Linked DNA regions of Homo sapiens: all the other regions are linked to region 3. Evidence: promoter capture Hi-C in human tissues and cell types (Jung and others, 2019). All regions are on one chromosome and are shown on one strand. The core of a region is centred on a gene start or on the middle of the fragment in contact, and the rest is flanking DNA. Distances in the headings are between cores, read along the strand shown.

Region 1 (3,316 bases), core at 721-3,220, 360 kb before region 3:
TTAGAGAACAATCTCATGTTTGGCACTAAAGTGAAATTGTAAGGTATATAAAATTAAGGGAGATGAGGAGGCATACAAATATTTTGGATAACACTGTTGGAATGAGTAACTACACACAAGTGGCAATTTAGTATTTCATTTTCATATACCTTATGCTTTATTCTTCCTCTTCAAAGAAGAAAACACTGTATAAACGATCCTCATATGGCTTAACCTCCTAAAGTGGAATGTTAAGGTTTTATTCCATATGAGAGTGTTGATATGGTTTGGATCTGTTTCCCTGCTCAAATCTCATGTCGAATTGTAATCCCCAGTGTTGGAGGTGAGGCCTAGTGGGAGGTGATTAGATCATGGGGTAGATTTCCCTTTCTGTTGCTGTTCTCATGATAGAGTTCTCACGAGATCTGGTTGTTTACAAGTGCACAGCACCTCCCCACTCTCTCTCTTGCTCCTACTCTGGCCATGTAAGACATGCCTGCTTTCCTTTCCCCTTCTGCCATGATTGGAAGCTTCCTGAAGCCTCCCCAGAAGCAGAAGCCGCCCTGGACAGCCTGCAGATTTGTGAGCCAGTTCAATCTCTTTTCTTTATAAATTACCCAGTCTCAGTGTTTTTTTTTTATAGCCTGTGAGAATGAATTAATACAAGTGTTTAACCTGAAACCAACAATATTTCAGACTATTATTAATGGCATCATATTAGTTACAAGAAAAGTTCAATGAGCTAGGATGGTGCAATTTGTAACAAAAAAATCTGTGACTAAATAATATATTATTAATAAATAATGACACTTTCTTCTGAAGGAAATTGTTGTTAACCATTATTTCTCCTTCCCTTATTTTAAGCACTTTTCCTTGTTGACTGAATTCCTATGAGAAGTTTCTGACTTCATTCAGCTCCTGCCTGTGAGAATGAAATAATGGAATGCATAGGCGTGAAGTTAAACAATAAGTCTCCACAGACAAGATAGCCACCAGATAAGTGATGTCTGTGGATTCATGTTTGCTTAACATATTAATCCCTTCATTTTAAAGTATCTTGATACAAATTTAAGCCTACTTAATAAGTAAATGTTCTTAGAACTCAATGTCATAAAGGTAGATCAAATTTCTAATTTTGGAAGTTTTATCTCTTCCCCCCACAGTTCTATCTGTGTTTCTTGGCATTTCCTCTCATTCAGTTTGATTCAAAATTTCCTTGTTTAAAGACATCCAGGGACACATGTTTGTATGAAAATTTTTCTTTTCTTGGGAGGTAAAAATATTTGTCTTTAGTTGTAGAGCTTCTGATGGCTACGTCAAGACCATTATCACTTAACTTGGGGAAGCAGAAAGGTGGTGGTGGTGATGGGTACCAAGGGTGCAGTCACTTTGTCACAGCATTTGAGTAGTGGCACAAACCAAACCAATCAACAAAACTATTGTTGTATCACCTATTGTTTGTGTATTTGAACTCTGTAATAAGATGTGTATACATTTAGAATTATCGTTTCTTCTGGATGAATTAACTCCTGTGTCATGAAATGCCTCTCTTTATCAACAGTAGTGTTCCTTATTCAGAACATTAAGGAATATTCTGCTATTAATATTGCCACTCCAGCTTTCTTTTGATTGGTATTTGCATGGTATATATTTTCCATTCTTTTAATTTATCTATGTCTTTATATTAAAGTGGGTTTTCTTTAGACGGCACGTAATTGGGTCTTGCTTTTTCTCATCCAATCTGACAATCTTTGCCTTTTAATTGAGGTGCTTATACTATTAATTTCTTTGTTGATATGTTTATATTTAATTTTACCATCCTACTAGTTGTCTTCTATTTGCCCTATTTGTTCTCTGTTCATTTGTTTCCCTTTTATTGTCTTCTTTTGAATTCTTTATGATTCTATTTCACCTCTCCTATTGGCTTATGTATTTGTCTGCTTTGTGTTGCTTTGAAGAAATACTGGAGGCTGGATAATTTACAAAGAAAAGAGATTTATTGGGTTTACAGTTCTGCAAGCTGTACAAGCATGGCACCAGCATCTGCTTGGCTTCTGGTGAGGCCTCAGGAAGCTTTTACTCATGGAATAAGGTGAAAGGGGAGCAGATATGTCCCATGATGAGAGAGGAAGCAAGAGGGATGCCAGGATCTTTTAAACAACCAGCTCTTGCATGAACTAATAGAGCAATAACTCACTCATTACTATGGGGATGGCACCAAGCCTTTCAAGAGGGATTCGCTCCATGACCCAGACATCTCCCACCAGGCCCCAGCTCCAACACTGGGGATCACATTTTGACATGTGCTTTGGAGGGGACAAATATCCAAACTATATCAGTTTGTTAGTTAGTCTCCTTTTTAACTATTGCATTACATATCTTTATCTTACCACAGTCCAGATTCAATAATATGGCCTTCCCCGTATTGTGTAAGCATCTTACTATCATTTATTTCCATTTCCTCTGTCTTGTCCTTTGTCCTACTGTTCCCATATATTTTACAAAAGATACTGTGCCTATTTTGACTTCAGACAATCATCTTTTAAAGATATTAAAATTAGGAAAAATGTCTTTTATATTTACCCACATTTTTTATTTTCCTGTACCCTTTCTTTCTTTGTGTAAATAGAAATTTCTATCTTATACCACATTCATTCTGCCTAAAGAACCTCCTTTAGCATTGCTTGTCATGCTGGACTACTGGCAAATAATTACTCTCAGATTTTGTTTGTCTGAAAAAAAAAATTCATTTCACCCTCATTTTAGAAAGGTATTTTCACTAGAAACAGAATTCTGGCTTGACAGATTTTTTCCCTTCAATTCTTTCATGATGTTATTCCATTGTCTATTGCTTACATGATTTCTGATAAAAAAAATTGTGCTAATTCCTATCTTTGTGCCTCTGCTGGAAATGTTTCTTTTTTTCTCTGGTTACCTTCAAGATTTTCCCTTTATGTATGGTTTTAGCAGTTTGACTGTGATGTGCTTGGCTTGGTATTTATACTGCTTAGATTCTCTGAACTTCTTGGATCTATGGTTTGTTTTCTTTCATTAATTTTGAAGCTTACCTCTTCAGATACTCTTTCTGTCCTGTCCTCCCCTTTCTATATTTTGTCTGGTACTCCAAGTATATGTATGCAAGACCATTTGATGGCCCCACATCTTTGGGATAATCTGTTCTTTTTTCCTTACTATTTTTCTTTGTGGTTGAGTTTGGATAATTTCTATCAGCCTATCTTCAAGTTCACTGATTCTTTTCTCTATTGTGTCCAGTCTGCTGATAAGCCTGGAAAGAATTCTCCATTATGTATACACTGGATTTTCTATTTGAATCTTT
Region 2 (3,461 bases), core at 882-3,381, 260 kb after region 3:
TGCTACAAGGCTTTAATACATCATGCCAAAGTATACTTTCGCTAGATTTAAAAAAAAAAAAAGGCTTTTCATGATCAGTGACTGTGGACAATCAAACCCTTCATGGTCTAAAACCCAGAGACTGGATATTCTGAAAATGATATCAGAAAAAGACTGCCCTTTGCTGAGCACAGTGGCTCACACCTGCAATCCCAGTATTTTGGGAAGCCAAGGCGGGTGGATCACCTGAGGTCAGGAGTTCGAGACCAGCCTGGCCAACATGGTGAAACCCTGTCTCTACTAAAAATACAAAAATTAGCCACTGGGTGTGGTGATGGGTGCCTGTAATCCCAGCTAATTGGGAGGCTGAGGCAGGAGAATCGCCTGAACCCAGGAGACGGAGGTTGCGGTGAGCTGAGATCCTGCCATTGCACTCCAGCCTGGGTGACAGAGCAAAACTCCATCTCAAAAAAAAAAAAAAAAAAAAAAAAAAAAAAAAAAAAAAAAAAGACTGCCCTTGCCACCCACACTACAGCAAAACTTTGGGACCTCAAAGCTTAGGTTCATAATCTCACAACTGAAAAGGGCCCTCCAGACTCTTTGACCTATACACCCATTTGAAACCTTAAGATAAAGCTAATCAGGAAAGTTTCTCCCCAAAACAAATGGCATCCTAGACATGGACAGCTTTCCCAAGATCACAGATCAAGACTTTTCTGCTATCATCAGACTCTTACCTCTCTTAATTTTTTCCTTGCTTATGCCTCTATAAACAATAAAACTAAAAAGGGAGATTTGTGTACATCATGAGGTATAACTTTATTTGTAGAGGACTTTGCAGCCAGCATTATACATTGACAGTCTTATGCCTGGGTAGAAAAGATTCAGGACCAATGTGAGCAAAAACATTTAATGGCATCTTTATTCTTCCATAATCAGTCAGAACCAGAACATTGGTTCATTCCTTTTAACCTACATCATAGGTTTAAAACAACACTGCCAGGGGCCTTCACTCTTCTAGTGAAGTTTAAACATGGAGTTTCTTTACACTCTTCTAGACATAATTCTTAGGCCCCTTTTCCCATAATTTAAAGGAGATAATGATTACAATTCATCCCTCATAATAGGCTCCATAACAGATTGTACTACAAAGACTGATTACACAAAAGTCATCTTTAAATTCTCTTGCTAAGGTTGTGCTGGATAATAAAATTACTCTAGATTGTCTACTGGATAAACAGAAAAAAATCTGTACCATTACTGACTCTATTTGTTACATGTAAATAAATGCATTGACTATTACAGAGATTTGGTTGTAGGGTATTAATAAACAGACTGCTTGATTAAAACAAGTAGACTCCTTTTCTGGCTCATTCTTTGATCTATTTCATTTTAGTTGGTTTGGTTCATGGAGATGCTGACTAAGGAGCATACTCCAAACTCTTGATTTGATCTTCTTGATCATTATAATTGTCTCTCTGGCACACTATGTTCCCTCAAAAGTTTTCAATGGTTACATACAGCCATTTGTAAAATGTCAAATGGTCTCTCTTTAATTGAGATGACAAAAACTCAAAAAAGAGTGTTCTCATAAAGACATCATAACCAATAAATGATGTACTGAGACCAAAACCCTAAAATAATGGTAACTGAGAATGGCGTTAAAAGCCTAATGGTCACACTCACCTAAGTAAAATCATAACCAAAAGGAAGAAACTGTTAAACAAAATTAGGAGATGCCATTATTTTGGACTGAGTTCATACAATAGGCCCCAGCAGACCAGACCAAACCAAAATAGAGTCACTCATGCTAAGTGTGACATAATCAAATTAAAATTTTTTAAAAAAATCCTAAACAGGTAAGTCCTAAAATAGACGCGAATTTTCTTTCTGCCCTCCAAAAAACAAGAGATTCCAACACAGAGAGGTCCCCTGTACTCTCTTTCAAAAAAATAACCTAAAAAAACCATCTTACAAAGCTCACTGTTCTGCTATTTCCCAGTAAAACTTAAGACCAAATAAGTGCCTTTACGATAGTGGTAGAGTGAAATCAATGCCTACAGTTTTGGTTCACCTCTCAATTTTGAGGGGAGCATTGTTAAATGTAGCCTAAAACTGCCTCCTTACATATTTTAAGCTTGCCCTAAAAGTTTCTCTGTACCTAGTAAACTGTAACCTAACTGGATGCATAAACAGACCACCTTGTGCCTATTTCTCTCCTACCAATCAGCCAATCAAGACAGCCAGCTGTTCAAACTATGTTCAAGTGAGACAAACACTGAGCTGTAACCAATTCAGCCATTTCTGTACCTCACTTCTGTTTTCTGTAAGTCGCTTTCCTTTTTCTGTCTGTAAATCCTCCCTGACCACATGGCAGTGGCAAAGTCTCCTTGAACCTGTTCTGGTTCAGGGGGTTGCCCAATCTGTGAACTCTTTCTTGCTCAAATAAACTTTGTTACATTTAATTTGTCTAAAGTTTTTCTTTTAACAATGGTGTTCGTGAAATATTTGTCAAGGAAAGGGAGGGAGGGACAGGTTGGATGGATGAACAGATGGACAAATACCCAAAAGTGTAACTGTTTATGCCAGTCATGTTTGTTTATTTCCAAAAATACTGCTTTTATTCAGGGCTCCCCAATTCCCCATTGGCCCACTGAAAACCTAGCTTCTATTCTCTGTCCCCATGTAGCTATGAGATTTTGGATAAGTAAGGATAAAGACCAGCATGATAAACCAACGTGCTGACCATGTGCTGAGCATTGTTCTAAGTGTTTCAAATGTTTTAATAGATTTAATCCTCAAAACAACCCTATAAGATAAGTATGATTGTTGTCCCTGATTTACAGTTGGGGCACATGGTGGGTAAGAAAGGTCACACAGACAGTAGATGGTGGGGCTTGGATTTGAATCCACGCAGTCAAATCTTGGGAGCCTCGTTCTTAACCACTATGTCATACTTCTATAGCCATTGCAGTAAATGCATGTGGAATGAATGGATACATGAATATACACCCTATGGTACTCTCTAGATGTTAATTTTCTCAGGTTGTTATATAATTTCTGTTCTGCCTGTCTTCATTACACACACACACACACACACACACACACACACATTGTCAGTCCTTCAATGGACGAGAGCTTCAGAAAGCTTCTCTTCAATAGATTGAAAGGAAATATTTTGAGACTTTAATTCATCTTTAAATTTTTTGAATTTGATAATTTGTTGAGTTTGGCAATTAAAAAACATATATTTAGAGACATGGATCCTTATTTTTGCTGGAGTGTGGATGAAGTTTGACAAACCACACCTTGTTCCCTAATGTTACTTAAATGTAGGAACTCAAATAGATGGCATTGGTCATTCTACAGAGTGTAAAGTATATGTCCCTTTCTGGGTCAAATCAGATTTGGGCTTCTTGGCTTATTGTTCAGCCCTCAATGTAAATATCTAAACACATAATCACAAGCTTAAGGTGCCACGT
Region 3 (3,079 bases), core at 374-2,873:
CACACACACGAGCAGCTTTGGGTCTTCCAATCCTATACTTAGCACATTGTAGCACAAAGAATCTCCTTAATATATTTTTATTAAGTTAATAGGTGAATAGGAAAGGCTGTAGTGTGTTATACGGGGAAATAGACTCAGGTGTGTCTAGATATTAAAGTCGGTATATTAAGGTTACCAAGCGTGAAAGATTTTGATGGAAGAATGAAAACATCCATGTCCAGGACTTCCAGTTTCATTTCTCAGTCACTAATTTCAAGTCACCAAATAAACAAAGTGAAAATGGGTGAAACGTACTTTGAGTTACAATAAGTTTATCTTAATTCATTGACTTTTCAACTGCTCAGATGTCTTAAAATTTTTTAAAAAGTAAGTTGTTATAGTAAAGAGCCACACAAATACTCATAGCAGAGGAACAATTTCTGGATTATGTCGGTGAGCTTTTTAAGGGTTTGGGGAGGATGAGAATAAAAGGGTGACTTTTTATTTTCAGTTTTTCTATCTGGATGTGTCAAATTCCTGATAACTTCTAACACTCAGCAATGGAAATTTAGAAGGTGCCTGAAAGAACAAATAGAATTTTCAGACCTGGAGAAATTCTAGTAATCATCACTCTGGGACATATTATTAAAATTAGTATTTTAAAAAAGAAAACAATCTTTCAGAAAGACAGGAAGTTTAGGAGCCAAAGCCAGAGGCCCTAATACAAATCGCCCCCACCTCCCCATCCCCCCATCCCCACCTTCTTCCCCGCCCTGTTCAAACACGCCCACAGCCCAGGAAATAATGAGACCCAAGTGATCCAGCTAGATAGAAAAAGTAGTTTGCTTGGCATCTCCCAAATTATCTTGAGCAAACAATAAAATAAGAAATGTTTCAGAAGACAATTCGGCTCCCAGGCCCAAACCAAAACTCGAACCTGGTACTTTTTGTAAGTGCGGGCCAAGAAAGGGGCTGTAAAGTTAAAGAGCCGGTGGCGCCTCTGAACACACCCGGGCAGGGCGAGCAGGATGTCCTTGTCCAGGGAGACCCCTTCTCCTGGCTTTGAGGAAGGTGCTCCCTATCCCCGCGGGTTCCTCCGCCAAGCGGGACGCCGCGCCGGGCGGGTGAGAGAAAGCCCGGGCAGGAGAGCACAGAGCCGGCGACTGGACGCGAGCGCGGGGCGGGTGGAGAGCGTCTCTCCGGGCGCCGCTGCTGTTGTCCCGGGTGCTGAAAAGCCGGGAACTTCCCGGGAAGCAGCGGCACTTTTCTCCCTGGAAGGTGGGTGTGGGGGTTCCAGACTGCGCACCTGCTAAACCCTCCTGGGTCCCCCGGGAGGGGTCCGCCAGATGTGCCCCTTCCCAGCCCCATTCGGGGGAGAAGGATGGGGGCGGGGGCGTGGGGGTGAGCACAGCCGGACACCGCAAGTGGGAACCTGGGGTGTCCTTCCCCGCAGCTCCCGGGCAGCCGCGCGCCGCGAACCCCGGTCCACCTGCAAGCAAGGCGGGCCGGGGGCAGAGGGCGCCGGGCTGTGCGGGGGAACCGGCCCGCGTCCCGGGATTGGGGGGCGGTGGAAGAGAGAGCGAGCGGGCATGCGCAGTGGGGCGGAGGAGGTGGCGATGGCCGGGGGAGGCGGGGGGACTGCTGTTTATTTGCAGCTGGGCCAACTCCGCGGCGCAGGCGGCGGCGGAGCGCGGGGAGCTCGCGGCGGGTCCAGCTGCCGCAGCACCATGCCCGAGCCCCCCTCCGGGCAGACGCCGCGCGCCGCCGGGGCCCCGGTAGGGGAGGATGCCAGACGCCCGGGAGAGGCCAGGGCAGCAGCGGCGGCGGCGGCGCGATGGTGGTGACCACCTCTGCCCGAGGCGGCGGCGGGGACCGCACACCCTCCCGGCGGCGGGGCTGCGGGCTAGCGCCGGCCGGGGCCGCGGCGCTGCTGGCCGGGGCAAGCTGCCTGTGCTACGGCCGCTCCCTGCAGGGCGAGTTCGTGCACGACGACGTGTGGGCGATCGTGAACAACCCCGACGTGCGGCCCGGCGCCCCGCTCCGCTGGGGCATCTTCACCAACGACTTCTGGGGCAAGGGCATGGCCGAGAACACCAGCCACAAGTCCTACCGGCCGCTCTGCGTCCTCACCTTCAAGTGAGTCCCTCACCTCGCGCTAGCCGCCGCTGCCTCCTCTACCCTCCGCCCGTCCCTCGGACCGGGAGAAGTTGCGGGACTGACTTGGGGGCATTTCATTTTTGCCGCCCTTTCCCTCCACGCCTCCCTCCTCTCCAGGATGTGCATGGCACTTTGCTCCGGGATCCACTGCCCGGCTAATCTGGGCTCTCGGGGCGGTTCGGGAGGCGCCGGCTGGGGAGTTGGGATCGAGTTTCTCAACTGTCTGCCCTCTCAGCGGGCTTCTCTCTCGAGGCAGGGCTGGGAGCGGGCTGGTGAAACCGCCTCCGCACCCCTTCGCCTGCCGGATCGTGACCAAGTGGGACTAGCGCGGACCCAGAGGGTTCCGGAGGGGTGGCGGTGGTGGCGATGCTTCCAAGTAGAGAATTTCTCGGAGGCTGTTGGGCAGCTTTGCAGATGAGAAGTGTATCAGCCCCTTAAGGGTTTCGTTCAGATGAGACGAGGCGGGAGCCTTGAGCTGACAGGGCTGCGTGGGTTCAGGAGAGGGAGCAGAAAACTCTCCCGAGCCCCCCAGCCCCCGCCTTGCACCCTTGGCTGCTCCCAGAGGCTCTCCAATCTGCCAGACTTCTCTGGATCTAGACTTTAGAAGGTGCAGAGAGAGGTAACGCAGAGCCTAGGCTTCTCCAGGGACCCTGGGGCCCCAGCCGAAATAGTTTTTCTTTTACAACCTCGGAGTCATGATTCAGCGTTTCTGGTGTGAATAAGCGTAAAGGGAACCGAGAATATGCCAGGTTTTTGAGGGGTGGAGTATTTTCTTTAATTTGAAAAGAAGCCTAGCTTCTGAGGAAAGAAGAGAAGTGCTCATTTAAGGGAAATGCTATCTTACACAATCAGGAGCTTGACTCAACCCTTTATAATGTGGCTCAGCATTGAAGTTCATTTTAACGCGCCGGTCAAAACTGTTGAAATAATATTGGTGCGCTAT

What was found. Contacts are between HindIII fragments. The study calls those that stand out against the background at their distance.
Region 1: a fragment that was not itself captured here is called in contact with the fragment with the promoter of TMTC1 in region 3 in 1 of the 25 tissues and cell types used here (mesenchymal stem cells).
Region 2: a contact is called between a fragment that was not itself captured here and the fragment with the promoter of TMTC1 in region 3, in 1 of the 25 tissues and cell types used here (spleen).

Annotation. Positions count from the first base shown.
Region 1 is chr12:30,138,953-30,142,268 of GRCh38, reverse strand. No RefSeq gene overlaps it. Among named protein-coding and RNA genes, the nearest start is that of LINC02386, 160 kb to the left of the region's middle. The HindIII fragment of the contact is 4,532 bases long and covers 1-3,316 here.
Region 2 is chr12:29,522,186-29,525,646 of GRCh38, reverse strand. The region is part of intron 11 of TMTC1 (transmembrane O-mannosyltransferase targeting cadherins 1); the gene reads left to right. All of the region lies in intron 2 of LOC105369714 (a long non-coding RNA gene), which reads right to left. Among named protein-coding and RNA genes, the nearest start is that of OVCH1, 26 kb to the right of the region's middle. The HindIII fragment of the contact is 4,073 bases long and covers 95-3,461 here.
Region 3 is chr12:29,782,486-29,785,564 of GRCh38, reverse strand. It overlaps TMTC1 (transmembrane O-mannosyltransferase targeting cadherins 1), which reads left to right and starts at 1,623. Exons shown (of 18, transcript NM_001193451.2): 1 at 1,623-2,115. The coding sequence starts at 1,814. The HindIII fragment of the contact is 32,748 bases long and covers 1-3,079 here.